Linked DNA regions of Homo sapiens: region 1 is linked to region 2. The links are contacts of gene promoters, found by promoter capture Hi-C in blood cells and fetal thymus (Javierre and others, 2016). All regions are on one chromosome and are shown on one strand. The core of a region is centred on a gene start or on the middle of the fragment in contact, and the rest is flanking DNA. Distances in the headings are between cores, read along the strand shown.

What was found. The method cuts DNA at HindIII sites, captures the fragments that hold promoters and counts their contacts. A CHiCAGO score of 5 or more calls a contact.
Region 1: the fragment with the promoter of NPEPL1 here is called in contact with the fragment with the promoter of RAE1 in region 2 in 1 of 17 cell types (total CD8 T cells); the score reaches 5.2 in total CD8 T cells.

The regions. Positions count from the first base shown.
Region 1 is chr20:58,691,355-58,694,697 of GRCh38, forward strand. NPEPL1 (aminopeptidase like 1) reads left to right here and starts at 1,446. Exons shown (of 12, transcript NM_024663.4): 1 at 1,446-1,696; 2 at 2,383-2,568; 3 at 3,068-3,238. The coding sequence starts at 1,547. It overlaps STX16-NPEPL1 (STX16-NPEPL1 readthrough (NMD candidate)), which reads left to right. Exons shown (of 23, transcript NR_037945.1): 10 at 51-208; 11 at 370-426; 12 at 2,383-2,568; 13 at 3,068-3,238. RefSeq lists enhancers at 879-1,584, 3,025-3,343 and silencers at 1,082-1,571, 1,582-1,741, 1,772-1,851, 1,872-1,961. The HindIII fragment of the contact is 11,943 bases long and covers 1-3,317 here.
Region 2 is chr20:57,349,779-57,352,717 of GRCh38, forward strand. RAE1 (ribonucleic acid export 1) reads left to right here and starts at 1,477. Exons shown (of 12, transcript NM_003610.4): 1 at 1,477-1,644. RefSeq lists enhancers at 1,108-1,676, 1,867-1,946. The HindIII fragment of the contact is 3,413 bases long and covers 1-1,764 here.

The DNA of each region.
Region 1 (3,343 bases), core at 196-2,695, 1.3 Mb after region 2:
ATTCAACAGCTTTTTTTTTTTTTTTTTTTTTTTTTTTTTTTTTTTTTGAGTGCCTGCTCTGTGCCAGGAACTGGAGGAAAAAAAAACAACAAAAAGTCAAAAAGACCTGCCTTCAGGATGCTGAAGCTCTAGTCTGTGGTGTTTCCAAGGGGCCAGGGACCATGGCTCAGAGCTGAGCAGACAGACCTGGAGCCTGTGGACAGGGAAGGTGAAAGCCTGGCTTGTGGCTCCCGGGGCTACAAGTTAGGGAGCTAGGGGGCCAGCTGGGAGGTCAGTGGTGGAAAACCTCTCACACCACGCCAGGGAGTTGACAGTGCTTTTTTTTCTTTTTTTCTTTTCTTTTTTTTTTTTTTTTTTTTTCATTTTTAGGCTGGTTATGAAGAAGAAACTCAAAATAACAGGAGTGGCTTATGGAACTACATGGAGGTAACAGAGGAGGGTACCAACCAAAGGCCCTTGAGCAATCAGGATGTTGGGTAACAGATTTTTGCTTTTAAATGACTCCTGGGTGGAGCTTCCCCAATGCATCGTCATTCCCTGACCCTTGCATCTGACCCTGTGGGTGGGACCCTCCGCCTCCACCATCCACTCAAGGCTCACCCCTGGCTCCTCCACCACCCGGCTCCTGCCCCACACCCCCGATGGCCTTTCCTCCCCTGTAAGGCGACTGAGGTGACTCAGGTCACCCTGCTCCTTCCTCGTCTCATCTCGTCCCTCCTTTCCTGCTTAGACTGTGCCAGATGACCCTTCTTGCAAAGGGGTGGGCGGGAAGGCCCCCCATGCAGCCAGGCAGTGCCTGGATTTGTAACTGGCCATCCCAGCAGCAGTGCCCTGGATGGAAAGCCACGTCCCTGTCACCCTCTCACATCCAGGGCAGTGCCTGGCAGAGCGGGGTCTGATAAACGCCAGGGAACCTCCGATTAAGTGAGGAGGAAGTGACCGTCCACGCTGTACCCACCATGCCAGGCAGTGGGACAAAAGGACCTGACTCAGGTCCAAGAGTCACTGGGCCCCTCCGGCCTAACTGATGGGTGGCCAGGGTGCGGGGTCCCTGGGGATCAAAAGCAGCTGCTAAGGGACCTCGGGGGACCTGCTTGGGGCCAGCCTGAGGCCTGACCGGGCGGAACTGCGTCGGGTGGGCTTGGGCCTACGTCGGCCCAGGCCCCACTGGAGGCCAGGCCCGTCCGGGAGGCGCTGCCTGGCGGGCCACGTCGCCCCGCGTGTTGGGCAGGGCCGCTAGGCCCAGGGGCGGCGCCGCTGGAGGCCGGGCGCGCGGGCCCTACTCGGCAGGGCCTGCTCGGGGCCGGCTTCGGGCCTGCCCGGCCGGGCCTGCCCGCACCCTTCCGCCCGGCCTGGCCGGCGCCCCCTCGCGCCCCGGGCGGGCCCTGCACGTCTCGCGAGCAGCCCGGAGCGGCGGGGGAGGCGGGGCCCGCGGGCTGCCGGGCAGGGCCGGGGCGGTGCCGAGGCCGGGCCGGAGCGGGGCGAAGGGGGCCGAGCGGCGGGCCGGGCCGGGCCGGGCAGGGCCGGGGCGTGGGCCGGCAGGAAGATGGCGAACGTGGGGCTGCAGTTCCAGGCGAGCGCGGGGGACTCGGACCCACAGAGCCGGCCCCTGCTGCTGCTCGGGCAGCTGCACCACCTGCACCGCGTGCCCTGGAGCCACGTCCGCGGGAAGCTGCAGCCCCGGGTCACCGAGGAGGTGAGCGGGCCGCCGGCCGCCATGCGACCCGCGCCGCGGAAGCCCAGGCCCGGGCGGCCCGCGGAGGCCCCGCCTCGCCCGCCGCACCCCCGCCGCCGCCGGGCCGGGCCCAACGAGGCCGGGCCGCCTCCCTGAAGGGCTCAGCCGCCAGGCCAGTCCTCGCCCGCGGAGGCCCAGCCCCAGGCCCCGTCGCCGGTGCGGCGCGGTGGTCCTCCTGTCAGCCCAGCCCTGCGCCCCGCGAGGCCGCGACACCTGCGGACGGCGGGGGGGGAGACGTGGCCGCTCCCAGGGCCGCGCGTCGGCCCCGCCTGGCGACAGGCCCTGGCTTCCAGAAGTTCCCATGGCAGTGTCCCCAGCTGCCTTTCCTTGGGGACACCTGGCCCCTGCCCCCTCTCTGGTGGAAGCCGCCTAAGCCCTATCCGAGTGTTGGAAGCAAAGCAGCCCCCAGCCTGGCCCTTCCAGGCTTGGTGGCTTCATCCCACCAGGGGGATGCGAGCCAGCCTAGAGACAGTTAGCTCTGCAGAGAGGCGACACATCTCCCTAAGGATGGGAAAACGGTGGCCGGGAGCTGCGCAGTGCCCTTCCAGGACTGCAGGAGTGGTTGTGGCCGTGGCTGCAGGGCAGGGCCTCCTGGCACGTGGCCGCTGTTTGAAGCCTCTGTGTCTTGTCTCTCCCTTCTGATCTAGCTCTGGCAGGCTGCCCTGAGCACGCTCAACCCCAACCCCACGGACAGCTGTCCCCTCTACCTGAACTACGCCACCGTGGCTGCCCTGCCCTGCAGGGTGAGCCGGCACAACAGCCCCTCGGCCGCCCACTTCATCACGCGGCTGGTGCGGACCTGCCTGCCGCCCGGAGCGCATCGCTGCATTGTGGTGAGTGCTTCGAGAGGAGGCAGCCACGGTGCTCCTAGTCGGGCAGCGGTGAGCTCGGGCCTGGGGAGCTCACAGCCCTGCTCAGACTGCAGCGCACGCCCAGAGGGCTGTGGACGTTATCATCCCTGCTCTGTAGACAGGGAAACAGGTCCAGAGAGACGCGGGGATTTGCCCCAGATCAGTTTTGGTGGCAAATCAGAGACTCAAACCTAGATTTCCTGAGGCCCACTTTGTGTCTGTCCCTCTGTCCCTCATTTTCATGGCTGGTCAGGCTGTTGACATCTGGTGGCCAATGTGTTATTTCTCTTGGAGCATGACCAATGGTGGTCCCATGGTTCCGGGGATGACCTGAGGGATGGGGTGGCGGCTGCTGTGGGACATCTCTGTCTAGATGTCACCTGCCAGGGAGCTGATGTTCCGGAGGCGTTCAAAGAGCAGCTCCCTGCACTCCCTGGTGGCGGCCCTTGCACCCCTCACGCCGTCTCCCTATGTGCCACAGATGGTCTGCGAGCAGCCGGAGGTCTTTGCTTCCGCCTGTGCCCTGGCCCGGGCCTTCCCGCTGTTCACCCACCGCTCAGGTGCCTCTCGGCGCTTGGAGAAGAAGACGGTCACCGTGGAGTTTTTCCTGGTGGGACAAGACAACGGGCCGGTGGAGGTGTCCACATTGCAGGTGGGTGTCTGGAAGGGCAGACACTGCCCCTGGGCCCGGGCAAGATCGGGCAGGTGGGAGGGAGGTCGGGAGAGGGAAAAGCTTGTTGCGGGGGCAGGAGGGGGT
Region 2 (2,939 bases), core at 227-2,726:
AGCTATTATTACCATCATCGTCTAGACTAGAGGTTCTCAGTCTTGGCTGCATCTTAGAATCACCTGGGGAGCTTTTAAAAAATATTAATTTCCTCTTTTCTAGCCCAGGCGTACTAAATCAGAATCTCTAAGGGTGCAGTGTAAACATCACAGTTTTTAAAAAGCTGCCCAGGATTCCAAATGATCTACAGCCTTGGTACTTAACTCTGGTTCACGGCCCAGCAACCTCTGCTGGGAATTTGGTAGAAATGTGGATTTTTAGGCCCATCGTAGACCTACTGAATCTGCATTTTATAAAAAGATACCCCAGATCCTAAACCTCCTTAAGAAGGTCAAGGCACGCAGACCACACTGAGTAGTGAAGGAGAGAATCCAGGGTAGCTACATAACCTCACGAAATCCCTTCCTTGTGATCTGTCTTTTCCTTCACTTCCTTCTTCAGATGCTCCTAAAAGTAGGGGTTGGGAGGAAACAACCAACTGAAATATTTGGAGTGGGCGTGTGTGAGTAATAAGAATCCCTTAACATTTCTACAGACAGTTCTATTAGTAAGAGTAGTTCACGTATGATTTCACTTGACCCTAATTAGGAACAGCCCTGGCATCATTTTCCCCACCATGCAGCAGGAAACTGAGGCCCAAAGAGCCCCGAGGTGGGCTCAGGGTACCCCAGTGGGCAAACAGGGAGAGGCCAGGGCGGGAAACCCGCGGCCGACCTCGCCTTGTTCGGAGGCAGCGTTAGAGCAGCTTCTCGGAGGTTGGCCTTGGACGTGAATTGGAAGCAATCAGAATCTTTTAGATGTTTATACATGATAAATGCAATAATTAATTCACAAGAGAAAACAGCTAGCTACCTTGCACTAGCCCTAGTTGCGGATTGATTGACTGATTTGAGATGGAGTTTCGCTCTTGTTGTCCAGACTGGAGTGCAATGGCATGGTCTCGGCTCACTGCAACCTCCACCTCCTGGGTTCAAGCGATTCTCCTGCCTTAGCCTCCCAAGCAGCTGGGATTACAGGCACCCGCCACCATGCCCGGCTAATTTTTGTATTTTTAGTACTGACGGGGGGACGGGGGGGCGGGGGGGCGGGGGGACGGGGGGCGGGGGGGGCGGGGGGGGCGGGGGGACGGGGGCGGGGGGCGGGGGGGGGCGGCGCGGGGGGGCGGGGGGGGCGGGGGGCGGGGCGGTTCACGATGTTGGCCAGACTTGTCTTGAACTCCTGACCCCAGGTGATCAGCCCGCCTCGGCCTCCCAAAGTGCTGGGATTACAGGCGTGAGCCACCGCGCCTGGCCAGTTGCGGATTTATAAAAGCAGTCGCTTAGTAACTTGCAGCGGCTACATCAACTTTGGACCAATTCGCAAACTGCTGGTGTAAAGCGTTTTTGCGCATGTGCTGTCGCCTTGCGGGAAAAGGAGCCTTTTTCTTCGACGATTTCCGGGCGACGCAGGAAGTGGCTCCAGGGCGCACGCGCGTTGTTTCCGCGGTAGTCAGGGCAGTTTCTACCGCAGGCTTAAGGAGGCTTCGGGCTCCTGGGATTTCTGTCCGCGCTCCTGGCCCTCGTCCTTCGCGCCAGAGCAGGTTCGCAAACTCCTCAGACCCTTCTGCTCCCGGCCGCCGCTTTCCGCCGGGGCGAGACCCCCAGGTAGGCCCCGTGCCGCGCGCGTCCCGTCGTTAACCGCCGCCATGGCTCCCGCAGAGGCCGAGTTGCCTCCCGGGAGCGCGCTTCTGCGGGATGCTGGGGCGCGAGCGGGACTGTTGACTAAGCTTCGTTACTGGGCCCTGGAAGCGAGGTCAGAGCTGGAAATGGCCTTAGGGGTCACCTAGGGCCTAATCCATCGTTTCTCTTGTGGGGGAACTGAGCCTCTGGGAAGGGTCACATTGCGTTAATGCAGTGTGTGTCGCCTCTGTCCCTCCCCCTTACACGTCTGGCGTCTCGTCAGATACATGTCAGCTCCTGGGAGAAGCTTTCCCTGGCCGCTTTGCAGAAGGGCGTCCCCTTTTAGCCTCTTCCACGTCAACCTGCTCCATTTCTTTCGTAGCAGTTACCAGTCTCTGAAACTAAGTCTGTTTCTGTCTTAGCCCGCCAAGTATTTATTGTATACGTATATAGGTGCCACCGTACAGGCAGTACTTCTCCAGGCAAGTAGTATTAAACACCAGCCGCCCTGGGCCAGGCATTGTACTGTGGGACCCAGTATGCATTAAGGGAAGAATCCAGGCAAGTGGCTGCCCTCTTGGAGCCAGCATTCTGGGGGGGAAGAGATTTTGAGTGTAAACAAGAAATTCCAGGGGATGTGATGGAAGATTAGATATGTTAAAGTTGGCAAAGAAGCGTCTGAGGAGGTGACTTTAAAAAAGAATACGTGTGACAGCTTTATTGAAGTATAAAATAACATTAATTTCAACCATTGAAAGTGTATATTGTGAGTTTGGAAATTTTATGCAGTTGCGTAAACATGGCAAGTTCAAATTTGGGACATTTTCATCACCCCAAGAAGTTCGGAGGAGGCAACTTTTGAACTGGGATATGAAGATTCAAACGGAGGTAGCTGTGGGGAGGGAGAAGCAAATCATCCCAAGCTGAAGGAACAGCACTAGGTTTGCTCCAAGGCAGGGATGAGCTTGTTGTGTTCAGCGGAGAAAGGAAGCCAGCAGAGCTAGGAGGGCTGGGGTGCAGCAAGGCGGGAGAGAGCGGGAAGAGATTAGGTGGGTCCCACAGATGACTGTGCCTTCTGAACTTTGGAAGCTTCCCAGTGCTCAGCATAAGGTGTGGTCCACACTGACTAACACGAACGATTCTCACCTACCATGTTCTTTTTCCTAAGTTCATCCCTAATGGCAGAAATGTTCTCTCCCAACTTGAAGGTTGAGGTAGAGGAATAGAGTGAAAGTAATATTTATTAAGAACCTGTAGTGCTTTAGGCAGTGTGTGTGTGT